Regions from separate parts of the Homo sapiens genome. Here all the other regions are linked to region 7. The links are contacts of gene promoters, found by promoter capture Hi-C in human tissues and cell types (Jung and others, 2019). All regions are on one chromosome and are shown on one strand. Each heading gives the region's core, a stretch centred on a gene start or on the middle of the fragment in contact. The rest is flanking DNA. Distances are from core to core; before and after follow the strand shown. Region 1 overlaps LINC01673 (long intergenic non-protein coding RNA 1673). Region 2 overlaps LINC01673 (long intergenic non-protein coding RNA 1673). Region 3 has its middle 140 kb from the start of GABPA. Region 4 overlaps APP (amyloid beta precursor protein). Region 5 has its middle 120 kb from the start of LINC00113. Region 6 has its middle 20 kb from the start of LINC01673. Region 7 holds the start of ADAMTS1 (ADAM metallopeptidase with thrombospondin type 1 motif 1).

The links. The method cuts DNA at HindIII sites, captures the fragments that hold promoters and counts their contacts. A contact is called where the count stands out against the background at its distance.
Region 1: a contact is called between a fragment that was not itself captured here and the fragment with the promoter of ADAMTS1 in region 7, in 3 of the 25 tissues and cell types used here (dorsolateral prefrontal cortex, mesendoderm cells and thymus).
Region 2: a contact is called between a fragment that was not itself captured here and the fragment with the promoter of ADAMTS1 in region 7, in 1 of the 25 tissues and cell types used here (IMR-90 fibroblasts).
Region 3: a fragment that was not itself captured here is called in contact with the fragment with the promoter of ADAMTS1 in region 7 in 1 of the 25 tissues and cell types used here (dorsolateral prefrontal cortex).
Region 4: a contact is called between a fragment that was not itself captured here and the fragment with the promoter of ADAMTS1 in region 7, in 1 of the 25 tissues and cell types used here (dorsolateral prefrontal cortex).
Region 5: a fragment that was not itself captured here is called in contact with the fragment with the promoter of ADAMTS1 in region 7 in 2 of the 25 tissues and cell types used here (dorsolateral prefrontal cortex and hippocampus).
Region 6: a fragment that was not itself captured here is called in contact with the fragment with the promoter of ADAMTS1 in region 7 in 4 of the 25 tissues and cell types used here (dorsolateral prefrontal cortex, heart left ventricle, lymphoblastoid cells and 1 more).

The regions. Positions count from the first base shown.
Region 1 is chr21:27,666,419-27,669,424 of GRCh38, reverse strand. The region is part of intron 2 of LINC01673 (long intergenic non-protein coding RNA 1673); the gene reads right to left. Among named protein-coding and RNA genes, the nearest start is that of LINC01673, 29 kb to the right of the region's middle. The HindIII fragment of the contact is 4,608 bases long and covers 1-3,006 here.
Region 2 is chr21:27,648,278-27,651,578 of GRCh38, reverse strand. It overlaps LINC01673 (long intergenic non-protein coding RNA 1673), which reads right to left. Exons shown (of 4, transcript NR_183539.1): 2 at 2,814-2,914. Among named protein-coding and RNA genes, the nearest start is that of LINC01673, 11 kb to the right of the region's middle. The HindIII fragment of the contact is 4,098 bases long and covers 1-3,301 here.
Region 3 is chr21:25,869,361-25,872,652 of GRCh38, reverse strand. No RefSeq gene overlaps it. Among named protein-coding and RNA genes, the nearest start is that of GABPA, 140 kb to the right of the region's middle. The HindIII fragment of the contact is 8,437 bases long and covers 1-3,292 here.
Region 4 is chr21:25,890,058-25,893,134 of GRCh38, reverse strand. It overlaps APP (amyloid beta precursor protein), which reads left to right. Exons shown (of 18, transcript NM_000484.4): 17 at 1,267-1,413. Among named protein-coding and RNA genes, the nearest start is that of GABPA, 160 kb to the right of the region's middle. The HindIII fragment of the contact is 4,595 bases long and covers 1-3,077 here.
Region 5 is chr21:27,839,309-27,842,465 of GRCh38, reverse strand. No RefSeq gene overlaps it. Among named protein-coding and RNA genes, the nearest start is that of LINC00113, 120 kb to the right of the region's middle. The HindIII fragment of the contact is 3,565 bases long and covers 1-3,084 here.
Region 6 is chr21:27,616,813-27,619,840 of GRCh38, reverse strand. No RefSeq gene overlaps it. Among named protein-coding and RNA genes, the nearest start is that of LINC01673, 20 kb to the left of the region's middle. The HindIII fragment of the contact is 5,420 bases long and covers 1-3,028 here.
Region 7 is chr21:26,843,797-26,847,148 of GRCh38, reverse strand. ADAMTS1 (ADAM metallopeptidase with thrombospondin type 1 motif 1) reads left to right here and starts at 1,740. Exons shown (of 9, transcript NM_006988.5): 1 at 1,740-2,924. The coding sequence starts at 2,195. RefSeq lists enhancers at 356-955, 956-1,556. The HindIII fragment of the contact is 5,494 bases long and covers 730-3,352 here.

The sequences.
Region 1 (3,006 bases), core at 419-2,918, 820 kb before region 7:
TTAGAGATAAAGAGTTCCAGTCCTCATTATCTATTGGTGATATTGGTGGTATTGGTGAGAATTGATCATATACCTTTTAATAAGAAATAACAGCATTATCTTTCTTATCTTTTAAAGTCTCTCTGTTGGGAAAAATAAAATCTCTTTCAGCTTTCCTTCAATTTTTGAAAATTTTCCTCAAACAATCCACTAGCTTTTGATGATGCATTTGATGATTCTAAATGCATGATTTAAGGTTTCTAGTATTATTTTGAGGCTATTTCACATATTGGTTAAAAGCAAGGGCTCTGGTCTCAGATTGTCTGGAATTAAACATGTCAGCTCTATCACTTCTAGTTACACAATGGGTCACTTACTTGGACTTATTTGGGTTTCAGCTACCTCTGAAATAGAGTTTGTAATAATATCTAATATGTAGGATTATTGTTAAGACCAAATGTGAAACATTAAGAATAGTACTTGATAATGGTAAACAGTCAACAAATGTTTCCTATTACCATTTAGAAAGATATTTCCATACATGAAGCATATGCATTATCACAAAAATGATTTCCAAGTGGCCATGCTTTCTATTGCTGCTATTTTACATCAGATTAAATGGAGTGCTAACATTATATCAATAAATGTATTATTATAGAAATTCTCTCAATTTGTGATTTAAAAATTTTTACAATTACTGTTTATCTAAATTCTCCATTTATATTTTCTAAAAAAAGTTAAGATTTGAAGCTAAATCCCTTTGAAACGGAGTTAGGCAGGAAGTTGGAATTAACTTTAAATAGGGTGAATATACTTCTCAATCTTCATAAACCAAGATTTTCTCTGCTCTTTATTAAAAACCACAGGAAAACATTTCTCCTTAAGGGTATCAGAGCTTTTGGCCAGCAAAGGGCTCAATGATTATTGTGAAAACAAAAGACACAATAAAAACTGTTGAAATCCAGAGCAAAGTTTAATGTCTGGTAGTTACACATAAATAAATATCTCTGCTTATTCATAAATCCTCTCACAGAAATGGGAAGATTAATTTTTATGAGTTAGAAATAAATTTGAGGGTATTTTTTGAAAGATTGAAAGGGGATTTCCAGATCCCAATGTAATTTCAGGAGATAACTATTAAGAGGGTGCATGAATGGAAAAGCATCAAAGAAATTGATGTTATGCAAAGCAACAACTAGATAAGACAATCCCAAGGGATGGATTTATAAATAAGACACTAAAGCCAACAAAGTTAGCCCATCTGACAGAAATGCATTCTGGAGTTAGGCGATTATTAGGATTATTAGCCATTACATTTATTATAAATCAATTTATTTTTATAAAAAGCTTTTGTTTCAGATTATAACTTCCTTTACTAATAGATATTCTTGCTCTATCATCACTGGGTGCAACATTTTAAATTTTGCAAATTTGTATTGTCAAAGAAAGTAGGGATGTGGCTGTAGGCAGGACAGTGATGCTTGTTTATTCATTCAACCAACATTTATTAAACACCTAAAACATACCAGGTGTGCTCCTGGCACATTATTTGTTTGCATATATTTAAATTTTTAATAGACATATGGAGAAGACAAAGATGATAAAATGACTTACACATTTTCATGATAATTTGCTCATTAAGTAATTTGACCTAAAAACTAAACATCAAAATATTTTAATCAAAAGTTGAGGGAGTAGATAAATATATGAAGGATATGTTCATACTCTAATAGGCAACTGTGGCATGGATGAAGATATTGAATTCTATTTCTTATTTTTATAATTAATCATGTGACCAAGAAGAGATCAAAAGAAAGATAATACGACAACAATAGTAAAAACCCTAGGTGTATTATTTCTTCTTTAAATCAACTTGATTGAGGTATGAATAAGATAAAAAGAAATATACCTATTTCAAATGGATAGTGTGATGAGATTAAAGAAATGCATACACCTGTGGTCTCACAAGTATAATCAAGACATAGAACACAATCATCACCTCCGAAAGGTTTGTTTGGCACCTTTTTAGTCAATCACTTCTCAGAACACTTTGCTGTAGATAAACACTAATCTGCTTTCTGTCCCTAAAGATTAAACCTGCCTTTCATAGAATTGATAATTACTTCTTGCATGTGTACAGTAATTAACAAAAGATAAGACATTATAAAATTGAAGTATGTTGATGTGGTTAGGCTTCATGTCCCCACCCAAATCCCATCTTGAAATGCAATCCACATGCATCGAGGGAGAGATGGAATTGATTAATGAGAGCAGTTTCCCCCATGTTGTTCTCATGATAGTGAATTCTCAGGAGATCTGATGGTTTTATAAATGGTAGCTTTTCCTGCGCTGTCACACACTTCTCTCTCCTTCTGCCTTGTGAAGAGCTGCCATCCGTCATGATTTTAAGTTTCCTGAGACTTCTCCAGCCATGCAGAACTGTGAGTCAATTAAACTTCTTTCCTTTATAAATTACCCAATTTGGGGTATTTCTTTATAGCAGTGTGAAAATGAACTAATACACATATTATTTTGAAAATGTGATCAAGAATTCCAAGCTCATTACAAAATGGTTTCATCATAGATGCAGCACTACAATCATGAAGGGTGGTCAGTGGCTTCCTTTAGGGTATCAGATCTACTGGAAAGGCCCATGTCATTCCTCTCTATGTGATTGGTCCAAGTTTAGCCATGCAAAATAAAGAGTGAGAGAATCATAGAATAATAAAACAAGAGGCATGTAAGCCAACAGATTCAAAGTGTAGACAAAGAAGCTGAAGTCTATATTGCTAAAGACTTTATCCAGGATCACTCAGCTAGTGAGAAGAAAAAGTTAAAGAGGAGACTGGCTTCAGTAAAAGATCATAACTGACTTAACAGGAGTATATGAACTGATAATTCATATCATGGAGAGTCAATTAAACATTTGTTTTAGTCAACTCCAGGAAAGTGGTTTTTATATATTTCTAATATTATCCTTTTCAAAAATGTGTCCTTTCTAATCTCATTGTAGCCATTTAAGTAAAA
Region 2 (3,301 bases), core at 300-2,799, 800 kb before region 7:
CTCATAATGCTTACTATAGCATAGTATTCCAAGCACACATTTTTATGTAATGGATTCAAAATGCCTTGCAGATACTGCATAACTATTACTGTCTTTCTTACAATGGTGGGCCGGTCTGAATTTAATGATAGCTACTGTTGGACTCGCCTGTGCTGAGCTAATAATTTAAGTTGAGCTTGTTGAATCTTATTTTTTTGTTTTATAACCAAAGTCTATTTTTAATTTGCATATATGTGTGCCATCTGCTTTCACAAAAAAAAGGAGGTATCTCAGGAAAGGTTCTAAGGCCAAGCTGCAGTGTTGAAAGGTTTATAAATCTATTTTGATTCACATAAGCATTAACTCTTTACACAAAATCTGGCATCAGTAACAATGATTTATTATTTTTTTATTTCCAACACGAAGGAATGGAAAAGTTAGAAATCATATTTTATTTTTCTTGCTTGCAGTGCAGTCCTACTTGTCATCATATTTTTCTAAGTTTAAGCCCTTGTTCAGAGGGAATGTGGCTGGTTAATGTAGGTATTTTAACTGAAGATGGTACCTGTTGTAGGAGGGACCCAGTAGGAGGTAATTGAATCATGGGGAGGTTTTTCCCATGCTGTTCTTGTGATAGTGATTAAGTCTCATGAGATCTGATGATTTTATAAAGGGAAATTCCCTTGCACATGCTCTCTTTGCTGCCATGTAAGATGTGCCTTTGCTCCTCCTTCATTTTCCGCCATGATTGAGGCCACCTCAGCCATGTGAAACTGTGAGTCCATTAAACCTCTTTTTCTTTATAAATTTCCCATTCTCAATTATATCTTTATTAGCAGCATGAGAACAGTCCCTAACTAGGTACACTCCCTAACTAGGTACTTCATGGAACACCAGTGTCTGAGTGATTTCCAGGGACAAAGAATAAAAGAAAAGCTACCCCCGGTTAGTCAGGAAAGTATGCTATTGGCATTTTGCACTTCATAGTAGGTAGAAATAAAATCTGTGTAAATACTCTACTTAAAATGATTTATGTGCCTTTCAACTCTAAAATCAAACTGTAAGTTATAGTAAAAACTATAAAATGTGCAGATTACATGTAATGATAGTGCTATAAAGTTTAAGAATTAGCAGAGGACATAATACGAAAAAGAGAAGATGAGCATAACGCACTATTATTTTTCTATTGGTTCTTCTAGATTAGGATTCTCACCATCTCTTTGGTGAGTAGTGAGTGGACTATATTATATTATCTTTGTTGTACTGTTTCCATATTAGATGTACATAAGAATTGTATATTGGAATATGTTTAGTTTTATCATATAGAGAAGAGTATTTATATACATTTCTTATGTTTATTATATCCCCATTTCACACCCCTTATATACACTTATACATGAACTATGTGACTCAACCAATACTTGCAACTAAGAACATACATGTTCAAATCAGAAAAACTTCAGGTAAGTAACGTGCCTTTTAGAGAATATTTACATTTAAAGAATCTTATTTCCCACTGGATAGACTACATTTTACAGCTGCTGTATGTGCATAATTACACATACACTGTATGTGCAGTGTGTTCCTGTTTCCTTAGATCTGCTATGTTTATTCCCTACTCATCCAACTCGTGAAACATCATCCAACTCATCAGCTCATCCGAGTCATGAAACATTGTCCCCACTCATGTGCAAAAAACCTCCCCTGTCTTTCCAAGTTTGTCCAGTGGGTTTGTTTTCTCCTGACCAGTATCCATATCAGGTTCATGTATTTTGAACTTATTCTTCCCTTTCTAAATAATATATTGAAATACTTTTCTCCCTGAAGTGCCTTGAACACATTGGTGATGAATGAGGGAAAGTTTTACTGAAAATCTGGGTGACAAAGGTAGGTTATGTAAAAGCACGGTTGATATGGTTTGGATTTATGTCCCTGCCCAAATTCTTCCTCCATGTGGAATTGGAGGAGGGGTCTGGTGGGAGGTGCTGATTATGGTGATTATTCCCTCTTGCTGTTCTCATGATAGTGAGTGAGTCACATATCGTTCCTTCCTGAATGGACTCCTGTGACTTGTAGAATGTTATGTGTTGAATCAGTCACTGGCATGAGGCATGACGTTACTTTAAGATAAATCACAGCATACAAATAAAGCTGGCAGGAGCTAGATTTCCCTAAAGTGCATGAATTTTCCAGACATATAATTACAGTTGATTTCTAAACTCCATCTTATACGTCAGTTTTTGATCTAGCTTGCCTTCCAAGACATGCTTATTGTTGTATGTGGAATAGCATATTGCTATGTTTTATAACTCTGCTCCTCTGGTAAATATAAATGTAATTTTTTTCCAAGAAATATAAGGACCCAATAAAAGTAGTGTGTGCACACTTGTGCTCACATGTGACTGTTTACACAACTAACATGCTAATCAACTTCAATTGTGGTATCTCATTTGTTTTTTATTTAATTTCATTTGAGGTAGGTACTATTATTCACTGATGTACACAGATATCAAGCTTACTATATAGACAGAGATATAAATATTGACATGGATGTGACTACCTGTAACTGTCTAGATTAAATCCTTTTCTTGTAATAATTTCTTTTTCAAAGCAACCTGAGTTGCGGAAAGTAACTTGTTTCTAATTTATTATACTTCTCTTGCTCTGGCAAAACTTTCTGGATACTGCTGAATTTAGAAGATCTGTTGAATCTAAAATATTTCTTTAGAACCTTAAGATGTTATTTGGCCTGATTTTATTTCATGTTAGTTCCATCACTATCTAAACAGCCTGTGTGTGATGAGAGTTTGGTTACTGGGGCCCCCATGACTCACTGTGTCTAGCTGTTGGCAACGGCATTATGGAAACTTCTGAGTCTGAATCTGGTGACATCCCATATGTTGTTGACCAGGTTTCCTGTGGTCTAGACAGTGGCCTGAGAGAGGATAATTTTTGTTAATATCTATTCCCTGAGCCATAATATGTAAATATTGCTTATTTAGGTATTTTCAAAATTATCTCAAAACTCTTCAATGTTTTTGTGTACAAGCTATCATCTTAAGTTACAACAGTGAATATTTAGTGTGTGTGCTTATTGTCTAGTCAGGCATGTTCTGGAAAGAATTTCATGAACTACAATACTTGTCACTTTATAATCTTTAGTTTTAATGTTCATATAATTATGTTTGAAAAATTTATAATATGGTAAAATCTGCTAATATTCACTGTGGGGAACTTTATTTGAAATACTGTGCTGTTTAATGATAACTACCTGTCTATCGTCTATCTAATCAAATTGTTTTACTACCAGAAAACCTAAGAC
Region 3 (3,292 bases), core at 215-2,714, 970 kb after region 7:
GTATGTTAGGTCTCTGGATAAGCATTACCACCTTTAACAGCGGTTTATACAGTACAAATTGTATTTTGCCACAGATCTGCAATTTGAGTAGGGCTCAGTGAGGAACGCTCCTGTCTCCACACAGCACTCACAGAGGCAGCTGAACTGAAGGATGAGGAATGTGTTTCCAAGATGGCGCCCTCATGTGGCTGGTGAGTTGGTGTTGGCTGTCAGCTTGGGAGTTCGGCTGGGGTCCTCAGTTCCTCTCCACAAGCAATGTGCACCTCCATGTGGCCCTGGCTTTCTCAGAGCATGGTGGCTGGGTTTCAAGGATGAACATCCCAAAGAGAGAGGCAGAAACTGTATTGCCTTTTATGCCTCACCCTCAAAAGTTCCATAACATTACTTCTGTCATACCCAGTTGGTTCCAAGGCAACCACAAATGCCTGCCTAGGTCAAGGAAAGGGGACATAGATTCCATCTCTTGATGGGAAGAATGTCAAAGAACTTGTTTTAAAACTACCACATTTGGATAAATATACACATTCTATTAGGGATAAGTATGGGTAATGGCCATTTCCTGTCTTGGTCAGCTCAGCATAATTAACTAGTAATGAAAGACAAGGATGTTAATTCCCTTGGTAGGGCAATTTCTTTTTATAATTTCCATTCTGAACTCCAGGTTCCCAGTTGCCTGCTGAATATTTAGCAGACATCTCACGCTTAATGTGTCCAACATCTGACTCCAGATGTCTTGCTCCTCCTTTAGCCTTTCACTTCTCAGTAAATGATAACTCCATTCCTCCATTCCTGCACATACAGGTGCACACTGCACATGGAGAGGAACTGAGGCCCCCAGCCAAACTCCCAAGCTGACAGCCAACACCAACTCACCAGCCACATGAGGGCGCCATCTTGGAAACATACCCCCATCCTTCGGCTCAGCTGCCTCTGTTGAGTGCTGTGTGGAGACAGGAGCATTCCTCACTGAGCCCTACCCAAATTGCAGATTTGTGGCAAAATACAATTTTTACTTATAAACCACTGTTAAAGGTGGTAATGCTTATCCAGAGACTTAACATACAAGGTGTTGAAATTAGGACCATCTTTTTTTTTTTTTTTTTTTTTTTTTTTTGAGAAGGAGTCTCGCTCTGTCGCCCAGGCTGGAGTGCAGTGGCGCGATCTCGGCTCACTGCAAGCTCCGCCTCCCGGGTTCACGCCATTTTCCTGCCTCAGCCTCCCGAGTAGCTGGGACTACAGGCACCTGCCACCACCACGCCTCTGTGGATGCCGTGTGGAGCAGACAGGAGCATTCACCACTGAGCCCTACCCAAAAATCGCAACGCACTGGTTATCTGTTCACCTTATTCCCTTGTCTTCTTAGGTCTTTGATCAAATGTCACCATTTTGATGATGCTTTTCCTGACCATGGTTGCCAAAACTTAACTCTCTCCCCTGCCCTAACAGCATACGAAGAAGCATTTCATATATCCTTCTCTTCATCACTTTTCTCCTGGGCACCATCTGACTCATATGTTTTACTCTTTTATTTGCTTATTGCCTTCCTCTCACAAGAACGTAAACTTCGCAAAGACAAGATTTTTTTTTGTCTGTCTTCTTCACGGATGAATCCTTAGTGTTTAGTCTAGTGCCTTGTGCATGATGATGCTCAAGGAGTAGTTGTTGAATAAATGAGTGAATTGAAATTGGCACACTTTGGCAAGTAGCACAGAGAAAGGATCAAAAAGGTAGGAAAATGGGAGGAAGGAGAAGGACTTACTAAAATATTAGACACTAGAAAGTGAAACTGCTTTTGCAAAAATTATAACTGAGGAAACTATGACAGTGAAAGAGATCAAACCTAACTGACTCCATCTTGCTTCTAACCTTCAAGCTGTTCTTGTTCATTCCTTGGCATAGGCTGAACTAACCTTGGGAATAAATTTAGTTTATAGTTTAACTCTGAAACAAAATTGATAATAACCCTTTCCCAAGACTAACATATTAACTACAAGATTAGAAACTACAGTTTAGGGGCCATGCGACCTCCAGCTCCAAGAGTCTGAACCTCCCCAAATTGCTCCTGGGACTAACATCACTACTGTAAAACCTAAGATCAGTGCTTGAGATATTTTGCAGACCCTGCACTCGACGCACCAGCTGACACCACCCAGACCGGTAATCTGGCTCAACCAATTCTGCAATCCCACCCAGGAACAGAAGACAGCAAGAACTCACTTTGACCTCCTATGATTTCATCTTTAACCCAACCAATCAGCACTCCCCACTTCGAGTCCCTACACACCAAATTATCCTTCGAAACACCAGTCCCTGAATGCTCAGGGAGACTGATGTGAGTAACAATAAAACTCTTGTCTCCCACAAAGCTGGCACTGCGTGAACTATTCTTTCTCCTTTGTAATTCCCCTGTCTTGATAAATTGGCTCTGTTTAGGCAAGCAAAGTGAACCCATTGGGCGTTTACAAAATAACCAACATAGCAATATATTTTTTCTTTCTCAAGATCCATTCATAAATGGATTTGAATATTCTTAATGGTAGATTGGCTGGACCAAAGTGAAATGTCTATGTTTATGTCAGTTTCCTATGAGAGTTTCCTCTCCATGGACCTGGGGGAAATGGGCTGGAGGACCTGGCAGAGAAAAACAGGCTTCTGATAAATTGCCTCCACTGTTCCCATTCATCCTTCAGAACACCAGAGGGTTTTATCTATGAGACAGCTCCCCTTTCACGTTTAGCAATAGAGCCCTAACAATAAAAAAAGGAAAGCAATCATTTGATGAAAATTATACCTATTACTGAAGAATTTTATTTGTCTTCTTAGGTCTTTGATCAAAATTGTTCTTAGAAATTATTATAAAAGCTTTGGTGAATTACACAAAACCCTGGAATACAGATACTTAATAGAGGAAGAAAAATGGCAAACTCAGAGAAATAGAAACAACTCAGGAGAATTCAACCAAAGGCACATATAGCCTAGAATCTTATTAAAGATTCAAGAATTCCAGAAAGGGCCAGACGCGGTGGTTCACACCTGTAATCCCAGCTCTTTGGGAGACTGAGGCGGGTGGATCACGAGGTCAGGAGATCGAGACCATCCTGGCTAACATGGTGAAACCCCGTCTCTACTAAAAATACCAAAAAAAACAAAAATTAGCCGGGCGTGATGGCGGCACCAGCTACTCGGGAGGCTGAGGCAGGAGAATGGTGTGAACCCAGGAGGCGGAGCTTGCAGCGAGCCAAGAACGCACCACTACACTCCAGCGTGGGCGACTGAGTGAGACTCCATCTCA
Region 4 (3,077 bases), core at 531-3,030, 950 kb after region 7:
GTAACATCAAAGGCCACTGATCACAGATCACCAAACAGATATAATAATTTTTAATGTTTGAATATTTAAATAATTACCAAAATGTGACACAGACATGAAGTGAACCTGTGTTCACTGTTGGAAAAATGGCACCAATAGACTTGTTCGATGCAGGGTTACCAGAAACCTTTTTGTTTTTTTTTTTTAAATACTATCTGTAAGCACTACTGTACAATAAAGCTATGTATGCCTGTATTTTCATTAAGTTGCAGAGCAAACGTGGTAATATTTAGCTTTAGTTTTACTTCATCTGGCATAAGATCAACTCCTTATATAACAAGATGATAAAAGTTGTGGTGTGCTTCTATAATTTCATTCAAGTAGATAAAGTTGAAAAATAATGACTTGCTTTTATAAACAGTATGAAGCAATGTAGTGCAGTAAATGAAATTTTATTCCTTCTTTACAATGTTCTCAAAATTATTTTTATGTTTAATCCAAATAAAGAGCAAGAATAAAGCAACATTTCAGATTTTGGTTTCTGGAGACAATAGTTAGAAAGCATGAGTTATGAGTGACTTAAAATTCTTGTTGCCTGTACTTCACTTTGAAATAACATTATGCTTTAAAAAGCATTACACTGCTAAAGGTTAATTAGAATTCTGCAGAATTACTATAGCTAAAAGTAGGTAACAAGATATCTTTTTTTCTATTGTTTAACTCCTTTGTTTCAGAATGCCTATTCCTGTGCATTAAAAGTGTCCCTCCAAGGAAATTAGGACATCTGCAGAGTTGAAAAACACCTAAGTCTCAGTCACTTAGAGTCACACATCAGGGCTCAGAGTGCTATGACTAGGAAAATGCTGACCTCCTTTCATTAGTATGATCGTGCCTTTCCAGCTTTTGATAGATCCAAGCGCTATCTTCCCACCACTCACCAAATGTTCCACCTGTCAAAGGGTTTCAGGTCCCTGCAGACTTCGGTTTTGACCTGTGGGGAAAGTAGACTTCCTCGAACTGGGGAAGCCACATGTTGTACATCCTTCTATAAACTATGATTATCATTCTTAGTAGGAAAATATGTGATTTCTTTTTTTTTTTTTTTTTTTAAAGTAAGCATCAAATATTTGACCAACCAGTTGGGCAGAGAATATACTGAAACTTTTTATATAACCTCATCCAAATGTCCCCTGCATTTAAGAAATGAAATTCTTCTAATTGCGTTTATAAATTGTAAATTATATTGCATTTAGAAATTAAAATTCTTTTTCTTAATTTGTTTTCAAGGTGTTCTTTGCAGAAGATGTGGGTTCAAACAAAGGTGCAATCATTGGACTCATGGTGGGCGGTGTTGTCATAGCGACAGTGATCGTCATCACCTTGGTGATGCTGAAGAAGAAACAGTACACATCCATTCATCATGGTGTGGTGGAGGTAGGTAAACTTGACTGCATGTTTCCAAGTGGGAATTAAGACTATGAGAGAATTAGGCTTAGCTTTTTGCTAAGAACTAGCTAAGTATCTCTTTTAAAAAACGAATCAGTGTGCTTCCATGATGCTTGGGTTACAGTTGTTCTTTCTTGTTTTGGTTTTCATTCATTGCAACTTACCGTGAATATTCTGCTCAAGGTATTGAGAGTGTGTGTTGTTATCTCAACTTACAATTTGTGTTGAAGTTATCAAAATAATACAAATGATAATGCATGACTTTAAAAAAGCATGATTACTCTTAGACTTTTTTTTTTCAAACACAAGCAACAAAAACCAGTACAAGAAGTTAAAAATAAAAATAGAAGTAGGAAGTTGCTTTTTCCAAAAAAACTAAACATGTTTATTCTTGGATTTCTTTTGTCTTAAATAGTCTGGCCTCTCAATACAACCAGGTAATAGTAAATAATGTGACTTTTCAGTGCAGACTCTTACCTTTAAAGTTTCTCAGGAAATCACACTATACCAAATGGCCCACCAAAACATACATGATTGTTATTTGAGAGTTCTGCAACCTATTACCCTGCACTTCCACCTGAAATATCTTAGTTTCAAGGTGCTATACTAAAACAAGAAAGAGAGAAAGAAAATTTACGAATAAGTTATTTTTATGCATTTGAAATGCCATTTGGATGGGGGAAAAAGTGTTAAAATCTCACAGTATATGCAACTTTTTAGGAAACTGTCTTGCAGAGAGTATAGTGTAAACATAACTTTTATATGCACAGGGAAACTGAAAAATTTGTGTGACATTTAATTGCGATATTTTAAGAGTTATGGAATTTTTAGAGCTGAAAGATTTATTGATGATGACCAATCAAATTGATCTTCTCATCTTGTAGATGAGGGAACTGAGGCCGAGACAGAAGGGTTCAAATTATGCAAGGTCAAGCTCAGAGTCCAGATTTCCCCTCATATTCCCCATTGCTTTTTTTTTTTTTTTTTGAGACAGTCTCGCGCTGTTGCCCAGGCTGGATCTTGGCTCACTGCAACCTCTGCCTCCTGGGTTCAAGCAATTCTCTTGTCTCAGCTTCCTGAGTAGCTGGGACTATGGGCACACGCCACCATGCCCGGCTAATTTTTGTTTTTAGTAGAGACAGGGTTTCACCATATTGGTCAGGCTGGTCTCGAACTCCTGACCTCAGGTGATCCACCCGCCTTGGCTTCCCAAAGTGCTGGGATTACAGGCGTGAGCCACCGCGTCTGGCCCCCATTGCTTTTTCCATCAGAGAAAAGTCCAGGTGTTTCTAGGGAGTTGAAGATTCCACTATCCCCAAGGAAATGGGCTCTAAACCATTCTTGATTAGAAGAGGACAGGCAGAGTTTAAATAAATGAAATTTGTGGTGAAGCCAGAAATTTCATTTTGCTCAGCAATTAAAACCTCTGCAGACTACAACAGAAGCTGCTGATGGAAATTGGGGTGGAGCCTCATTTCCCCATTCATACTGACGTGGATGAGCAGTGTGAGGAAGGAAACCAAGAGAACAGCAGGCAGCAGGGTGGAAAGGAACGGACTGACCCATAGATCAGAGTGTGAGCACATAAAAGCAATGACCCCACTGTCATGTTTGGCCATTGCACCTTTTGTGATAGTATCTAAGCTTATGTC
Region 5 (3,157 bases), core at 53-2,552, 1.0 Mb before region 7:
TCTTTTAGGAAGAAATCTTAAAGTTAATATGTAATTTCATAGTAGCTTCTGAGCAAATAATAAATCATTTTCAAACATAACTGTATTATTATTAGAAAACTAAACAATCCCACTAAACAACTGAAAAAAACTATTTCACCCAATTTTTGTCTTATTTCCAACTCTTAAATAATTTTTTATATGCATTTGAATTTTCAGTACAATTCAAGTTATATATATTTGAATACCATAATAGATACTACAGGAGGACTCAATGACTTAAATTTTCATCTTTATTAATTTATCTCTTTTTTTCCTAATGTAGTGATTTTTAAAACTATTTTAAAATTTATTTATTGTACACTTACAGAATCATAGACAAGTCCTAATTTCAGGAAAGACATGCCTGATTAACTCAATGGAGAAATAAAATTAACCCTGAATAAAGAAAATGTGGCACATATACACCATGGAATACTATGCAGCCATAAAAAAGGGTGAGTTCATGTCCTTTGCAGGGACATGGATAAAGCTGGAAATCATCATTCTCAGCAGACTAACACAAGAACAGAAAACCAAACACCGCATGTTCTCGCTCATAAGTGGGAGCCGAACAAAAAGAACACAAGACCAGAGAGGGAAACATGACACACCAGTGCCTATAGGGGGTGGACGCCTAGGGGTGAGATAGCATTTGGAGAAATACCTAATGTAGATGATGGGTTGGTGGGTGCAGCGAACCACCATGGCATGTGTATACCTATGTAACAAACCTGCATGCTCTGCACATGTATCCCAGAACTTAAAGTATAATAAAAAATATTTTAAGAATTAACCGCGAACGACATGTTTATAAATGTTGTAAGATTGCCCTCATTTTCTAGGCCCCTGTTGAGAAATGAAATTGCATAAAATGTCATTAACTAGAAATTGCCTTTTAATTTCAACACATAATAAAATGTTGCCAATTCCACATCATTCTTCCTAACAGTAAATGTATTTAATATACCTCCAAGTTTATTTCAAGTGTCATATTCTTTAATGAATTTAAGAGCAATTATCAGAGTTTAGCAATAAGACTTGGCATCAGAGACTGTTAAAATTTCCTAGGTTATTTTAGTTCACAACTAGGCCTACAGACCACTATCATGTTCATTGTGCTTCTTTACAGTCTTTGCTGAGGAGTAAATAATTGACTTTGGGCAGCTTTAGCTTTTCCCAATGGCACAGGCCTTTGAACTGTCAGAACTCTGCACATTTGCAATGCCCAGACACCTTCTCTATGAAAACCCACCATCATTTGTTCATGCTTAGTGAGACAAAAAAAATCTGACCATTCAAATATAATTTAAATGATGTCTAATTGTGGCACATATTTCTATATTTGCATTTTACTTGCTCATATATAAAATAAGTTGATATAAAGATGAATTAAATACTCAGAAGTTCCATAAAGCAGGGTGATTTTCTTGTTTGTATAAAAATAAATGAAATTACGCAGATATAGAGAAAAAATAAAAAGTATGATGATAAAAAATGTAAAAGTGAAATGCTATTAAGCATTTGAACTTTTTCACTTCTATTATGACTAAGGAAACATCTCAAGAAATAAACTATATAAAATTACCATTTAATAATACATAATATTGGAAGAGGGAGATTATTTTCCCAAAATTACAAAGCAGATAATTACCAAACAAAAAAGCTTGGCAATGTAATTTCAATGCCTTTAATTGTAGTCATTTTGACCTAGTCCTTCATCTTGTTTCTTCTTTTCTCTGTGCTTCTGCTTTTAAAGGCAAGGCAAATTCTCAGGTATTAAAAAGTGTTTACATAAACTTGTGTTTACAAAATAAAATTGGAATTAAACGTTGATGTTTGGTAGATATGAAAGAATATGCTAAATTATTAATAATGAAAAAACAGCGTGTCTGCTTATTATAACACGTATCCTGAAGTGGGCAGAGGCAGATCCCATAAAAGCCAAGATTCTGCCTGCACTGGCTTAGAAGTTTATTGTAAAACATTTTGAGCCAAGGACATTTAGAGGAACAATGCCAAGTTAGTTTGAAGGTGCCAATGCAGAGTAATCTTTAAAAGATGGATACTCCATCATTGAAGTAACTGAAAGTACAATTCATGTCATGTCAATTTAACTTAAGACATCTGTTACCAAGATACAGAAGCATATCTGTCTATTAATTTTTAAGTAGAACTATTCAGTTTGTGCTCACCTACTTAGTTTTAATAAATGTTCTATAAATGCTTCTTTTCAATTGTTATTATTTATGAAGCCAAGTTTCATTCTATGTTATTCTTGGTCATTATTCCAATTGTAAAGTACAGGTAGGAAAGGAGGAGTACAAAGAGAAAATCCTAACTCTTAGTGGAAGCTTGTCATTTCTCAAAATGTGATGTCATCTCTTACCACAGCATTAATCTGAAAGCCTCCAAGTCACCTTAGGGCCCTGTGCATTTCTTGCTTGTCAGTTTCATCCTTTGTGAATTTCCTTTGAAATATGGCAGGTCCTCAGTATGTGTTTATTCAGTGACTATCAATGAAAACAGGCTTTTTATGAGAGTAGAAATGATGATGAGTAAGTTAATAATAGAGTGTCTGAAAACCAAAGACTCAATGAGATGAAGAAGTGATGTGGATAGACAAGGAAATGCATTAACAGCAAGAAATTTAGTGTTTGGGCAGATAAGTCTTACATATCAGTGAGTCGAGCCCCAAGTTTCAGGTTATAAATAGTTTGTGCAATTTTTTCTTTTAGCAGTTGATTTATCATTTAATTTGACTCAGTAAGTGGCACATAAGTCACTTAAAGTAATGGTTCCTTTCACCATAGAATTTGTATGTTGATGGGTTCCATAACTTGCCGTCCAAACAATGAGTCTCATTATCTATAATGAGACACAATAACTCATCCTTCCAAAAACACAAAACGTAGAAATCATCCCAGAATTTTCTATCTCTGATGGTTCAGAGATAATCTTGGTTTTAGTCATTGCTTCAGGCAAGTTCTATAGTGAAGGCATTGATTTTGGAGAGGCAGCTTGTAACACGTACTACTGTGTTCTAATGTCTAATATCAATTCAAAGTTTACAAATTGTGAGTGCAAAGATTGCATCCACGTAGGATTAGTTTATTTGGAATATTTCAATCTTACTTGG
Region 6 (3,028 bases), core at 213-2,712, 770 kb before region 7:
GGATTACAGACAAAATTGCTGCATGACAAAACTTTATCTAAGGATGAGTTCTTAGCAAATCTCAGAGACAACAGGGAAGACAAAATCAAACAGACTAAAGAAATTTGAAGCTTCTGGTACCTACGCCTATGGCACACAATAAACAAAGCTCAATTTTTAGCCAGATCACCATAAACCATTTCACTAAAGGACTATTTATCTCAGTTCCTATTACCCAATACATGAGGTCCAGATTTAAACAAAAAATAAAAGCATGATAAAAGGCAAGAAAAAAACCCCACAGTCTGAAGACACAAGGCAAACATCAGAAACAGACACAGATATGACACTGATATTGAAATTATCAGAGAAGGAATTTAAAATAACTGTAATTAACCCATTATAAGCTCTAATGGAAAAAAAACTAACAATGTAAAAGAACAGGTAGGTAATGTAAAAAAGCTATAAAAATATTATAATAAAGTAAAAGAAAATGATAGAAATAAAAATCACCAATCTAAATGAAGAATGGCTTTGATTAGCTCATCAGCAGACTCGACACAGCTGAGAAAAGAATCAGTGAGCTGGATCATGTGGCTATAGAAACCTCCTAAATGAAATGCAAAGAGAAAAAAGAAACTGACAATAAAATAAAAAGACAGAATATCTAAGAACTGTAGGACAAGTTAAAAAGATATAATATACATAATTGGAAAAACATAAAGGGAAGAAAGAATTAAATAAGACAAATTTAAAATGAAATTGGCCAAGACTTTAAAAAATGGATGACTGTATTAGTTCGTTCTCACTCTGCCAATGAAGCTATACTCAAGACTGAGTAATTTATAGAGGAAAGAGGTTTAATTGACTCACAGAAGCAACACTTCATTCTTCACATGGTGGCAGGAGAGAGAAGAATGAGAACAAAGCAAATGGGGAAGCCCCCTCTGAAACCATCAAATATTGTGAGAACTTACTATCATGAGAATAGTGAGGGGGAAACCACCACCATAATTCAATTACCTCCCACCAAGTCCCTCCCACAACACATGGGGATTATGGGAACTACACGCCAAGATGAGATTTGGGTGGGGACACAGCCAAACCATATCAATGACAAACACTAAACCACAGATCCAGAAAGGTCAGAAAATTTCAAGCAGGATATACCTAAAAAATGTATATATAGGCATAATGTATTCAAACTGCAGAAAATCAAACAAAGATAAAATCTTGAAAGAAGCCAGAGGAAAACAATAATACTATAGAATAATAGGAATAAAAAGTATATTAGATATTAGAAGTGATCCAAAAAGAAGGTGCAGTGAATTACTTAGCGTATTTAAAGAAAGTTGTTACCAAGTCAGAATTCTTTATCCAGTAACATTATGCTTCAGAAATAGAGAATAAAGCCTTCCTCAGAAGACAATACTAAGCGAGTTCATAATTATCAGATCTGCCCAATTCGCAGAAATGTCAAAATAAAATTATTTAGGGAGATTAAAATGCACACAGGTCAGACAGTTATATCTACATAAAGAAAAGAAGAATGGCAGTAAATGAACAAAAAAAGTTAAAATACTTCTTTTCATTTTTTTATCATTTTTAATAACAACTTTAAAACAATAATAGGAATCATGCATTCCAAAATTCTGGCATATACATAAGTGAAAAGAATCATAGTAATTTTATAAAAGGTGGGAGGGGGAATTAGAAATACTTTGTTAGAAGTTACCCGCACTACATGTGAAATATTACTGTCTTATTTGCAGGTGGATTTTCAGTGGGTAAAAATGTATTATATATAAAGAACTCTATGGCAACAATAGAGTAAAGCATTTTAATACTTTAATTAGCAGAGTATTTTAAAGTACAATTGACATGCTAAGAGAAGAAATAAAATGAAATCATATATAATGCTCAATTAAAGTCATATAAGGCAGAAAAATAGTGTGGCAGGAAAGAAACAGAACAAATGCAATGAATATCAGTTACAAACATGGTAGATGTTAATGCAACTATATTAATAATCACTTTAAATGTTAATGGTCTAAACACACAAAATAAAAAGATTGTCAGAGTGGACAAAAAATAAAATGGCCCAACTATATATTGCCTACAGGAAATCCACTGTAAATATAATGACCCATAGAAATTAAAATTAAATGAATGGAGAAAGATACACCATGCTAACAATAACTAAAAGAAAGCTGAAACAACTACATTGATTTAAGACACAGCTGACTTCAGAACAAGAGAGTATTAAAGATAAAAAGGAGTGTTAAACAGTGATAAAGAAATAAACTCTCTTAAAGATAAATAATACTTAGCATGTCTGCATTTAACAACAGAATGCAAGAACTGAAAGAACTACAAGAAACAATAGATGAATCCAACTATTTGCCCAACTAACAATATAACTATTGTTATAGTTAGAAACTTAGTCTGTTCAGGCTGCTAAAACAGTAACACCATAAACTGGGTGGCTTATAAGTAATACAAATTTATTTCTCACATTTCCAGAGGCTGAGAAGTCCAAAATCCAGATTTCAGCAGATACGTTGTCGTGTGAAAGCCCCCCACCCACACTTCTTCCTGGCTCATAAATAGCCACATATTCAGTGTATTACATGGTGAAAGGGTAAGGGAGGTCTCTGGAGTCTTTTATAAGAGCAGTAGTCCCATTTATTAGGGAGAAACCCTCATGGCCTAACCACCTCCAAATTCACACTGGGGATTAGTTTTTTAACATAAGAATTGTGGGGTGGGAGGCCACAAACATTCAGTCCATAGAAGAGACCTCAATACCTTTGTATTATTGATAGATCAGACAGGCAAAAAACCAGTAAGTGTATAGTTGACTTTAACAGTAGTGTTAACCAAGTTAGTCTAATTGACATTTAGAAAGTACTCCATCAACAAACAAGATAATATGTGTTCTCCCATAGCTCACAGAGAACATTCACCAAGATAGACCACATTGTGGGCCACAAAATAAAACTTAACAAATTTAAAATAACAGAAATCCTGCGAAGTGTTTTCTCATACC
Region 7 (3,352 bases), core at 491-2,990:
TAGGCAGAAACACTATCAGAATGTTAATCGAGCGCTGTCAAAATATATCTAAGGCCTTGGTTGATTATTCAACGTTCAACGATGAGGGTGATTTTAGGAAACCAAAATTAAATCTACGAAACCACCCACTCCTAAATGTGTAGGGACTAGAGGTCGTTACTAAGCCCTTCAGAAGTAAGCTGAGTTGCTTCTCTCTGCCATTCTTGCTCATTTGATTTTTCCTGATGAGTGGAAAGCAATGTTTTTGTTTTTGTTTTTCAAGTAAGCAATCTCGCTAGGAAAAAAGAAGTTGGAAAGCATCCGGAAAAGAAAGCTTGTAAGAGGGACGTGTGGGAGAACTAGAAGGGACGCTTCTGGCTGGGGCCAACTGAAGTGGGGAAGATCTGGGGAGGAGCGAGGAAAGGACCCAGATCTACTTGGAGCCAACCAAGAGACCGGACGGGAGTGGGGCGGAAAGGCGGAGACCAGTTCGAGCACTAACGCGGGGGCGCGCGAGTGTGAGGGTTGCGGGTCCGCCCGGGGCTAGGGCGGTCGCTCTCGCCATTGTCCCCGCGGCTTTCCGCCTGTGAAACACGTCCTTCCTCTGGGTCCTTGAGCCCCTCCCACTTTTTGGAGAGAAGAGCCACTCAGTTTTTTTTCCTAAGGACCTGTTGGTGGACCTCTCCTCGCTTTCGTAACGCGGATATAGCCTTTTCCCTTCCTGGTAGGAAGAGGAAGGAGGGGTCCGGGAAGGAAGCCGATTTCCTTCTTTCCCCCTCTGCACGCTTGCTAGCCCCAGCGATCGCTGCTGGCCCCCGGGTAGGAAAGTGGGGTTCCTGGCCGTTTCTGCGACGCTGGCCTAGGGCTTGCAGCTGCTGTTGAGTGAAAGCACGCAGACTGGCGGGAGCCGATCATTTCTCGAATGAAGAAGAAAAAGCGCAATTCCCTCCTTATGCTCTAGGGAATTGAGCCGCGTCCCAGATCACCCATTCCAGAAATGTGAAACCGGGCCCTCACAAAGTCGTCTCTGGTGAAGAGGTGGCGTGCGGGGTGGGGGTTGGTGGAGGGTGAAGGCATAAGCAAACATATTTTAAAATCCAGATCGTAGGAAGTGTCACCTGGCCCCTCACCCAGGCATGCTTTCTGGGGGAAGCGCAGGGCCAAGCTTTCCCTAGAAAAGCTGGGGCGAAGAGAGAGCAGGCGGCGGCTAAGGAGCTCCTGGCAGGCTGGGAAGGTGGAGAAGTGGGGTGAGGTATTTTTCTAGAAAGTGTAGCCCTAGCTCATCTCCTAGATTGGGGAAGAGGGAACTGAGGGAGGAGGGAAGGAGACCCAGGGCAGCTCCAGGATAGGGAAATGTTGAAGAAGGGACTGCGTTCTCCAACCGAACCCTCCCTCCTGGGAACCGCAGCCCAGCGCGGTAACTGAGTTACCGCAACCGGGCGGTGGGGAGGAAGGGTGGTCCAGGAAACCGGCGAGGGAGAAAAGCGGTGGAAGGGAGAGTCTTCTCCCTGGAGCGGCCCCAGCAGTACAAAGTGCTGGTCACAGCGCCCCTTCCGCCCCTAGATTGACGAGCAGTGGCGTGGAGCCAGCGCGGAGGCTGCCCCCTCCCCCTCCCGAGCCCGCAGCGCGGAGCGCGGTTTAGCACCAACGGAGCCGGGGGCGGCGTCTTTGGGATGGAAAAGGGCCAAAGGGGAGGAGTGGGGTGGGGGTGGGGGTTTCACTGGTCCACTATAAAAGGACCGCTCGGCTGCCCGGTTCTTGCACTCGCTGGAAAGCGGCTCCGAGCCAGGGGCTATTGCAAAGCCAGGGTGCGCTACCGGACGGAGAGGGGAGAGCCCTGAGCAGAGTGAGCAACATCGCAGCCAAGGCGGAGGCCGAAGAGGGGCGCCAGGCACCAATCTCCGCGTTGCCTCAGCCCCGGAGGCGCCCCAGAGCGCTTCTTGTCCCAGCAGAGCCACTCTGCCTGCGCCTGCCTCTCAGTGTCTCCAACTTTGCGCTGGAAGAAAAACTTCCCGCGCGCCGGCAGAACTGCAGCGCCTCCTTTTAGTGACTCCGGGAGCTTCGGCTGTAGCCGGCTCTGCGCGCCCTTCCAACGAATAATAGAAATTGTTAATTTTAACAATCCAGAGCAGGCCAACGAGGCTTTGCTCTCCCGACCCGAACTAAAGGTCCCTCGCTCCGTGCGCTGCTACGAGCGGTGTCTCCTGGGGCTCCAATGCAGCGAGCTGTGCCCGAGGGGTTCGGAAGGCGCAAGCTGGGCAGCGACATGGGGAACGCGGAGCGGGCTCCGGGGTCTCGGAGCTTTGGGCCAGTACCCACGCTGCTGCTGCTCGCCGCGGCGCTACTGGCCGTGTCGGACGCACTCGGGCGCCCCTCCGAGGAGGACGAGGAGCTAGTGGTGCCGGAGCTGGAGCGCGCCCCGGGACACGGGACCACGCGCCTCCGCCTGCACGCCTTTGACCAGCAGCTGGATCTGGAGCTGCGGCCCGACAGCAGCTTTTTGGCGCCCGGCTTCACGCTCCAGAACGTGGGGCGCAAATCCGGGTCCGAGACGCCGCTTCCGGAAACCGACCTGGCGCACTGCTTCTACTCCGGCACCGTGAATGGCGATCCCAGCTCGGCTGCCGCCCTCAGCCTCTGCGAGGGCGTGCGCGGCGCCTTCTACCTGCTGGGGGAGGCGTATTTCATCCAGCCGCTGCCCGCCGCCAGCGAGCGCCTCGCCACCGCCGCCCCAGGGGAGAAGCCGCCGGCACCACTACAGTTCCACCTCCTGCGGCGGAATCGGCAGGGCGACGTCGGCGGCACGTGCGGGGTCGTGGACGACGAGCCCCGGCCGACTGGGAAAGCGGAGACCGAAGACGAGGACGAAGGGACTGAGGGCGAGGACGAAGGGGCTCAGTGGTCGCCGCAGGACCCGGCACTGCAAGGCGTAGGACAGCCCACAGGTAGAAGAATTGCTCTCGTTTGTCTGTCCATTCATCCTCCTCTCCTCACTTTATCTATCCCACGCGACTTCAGGGTAGACTCCTGCTGGCAGGCAGGATCATAAGTCCGCGGACAGAACGGAGGCCTGGAGTGGAGGAATGTGGTTTGAGGTTTGGATTGGTGAACTCAGCTAGAAAACATACTTGCATTTGCCCGAATAATGAATAACCAAGAAAAAAACTGACAAACGATTTTCTGCAAACTAAAGCAAAGCATTTAGGCCGGGGAGGGAGAGTTTGTAACCTGACTCCTTCCACCTTTAGCGAGTTGGAGCTTGTGCGAGTTCTTTCCACTCTGTGTATTTCTTTTTAATGATTTTGTGTGCGCCTTTTGTGCGGGTTGCAACGTTGCGCTGAGTTTTGTAACCGCTGCCTGTGCGTGCATCCTG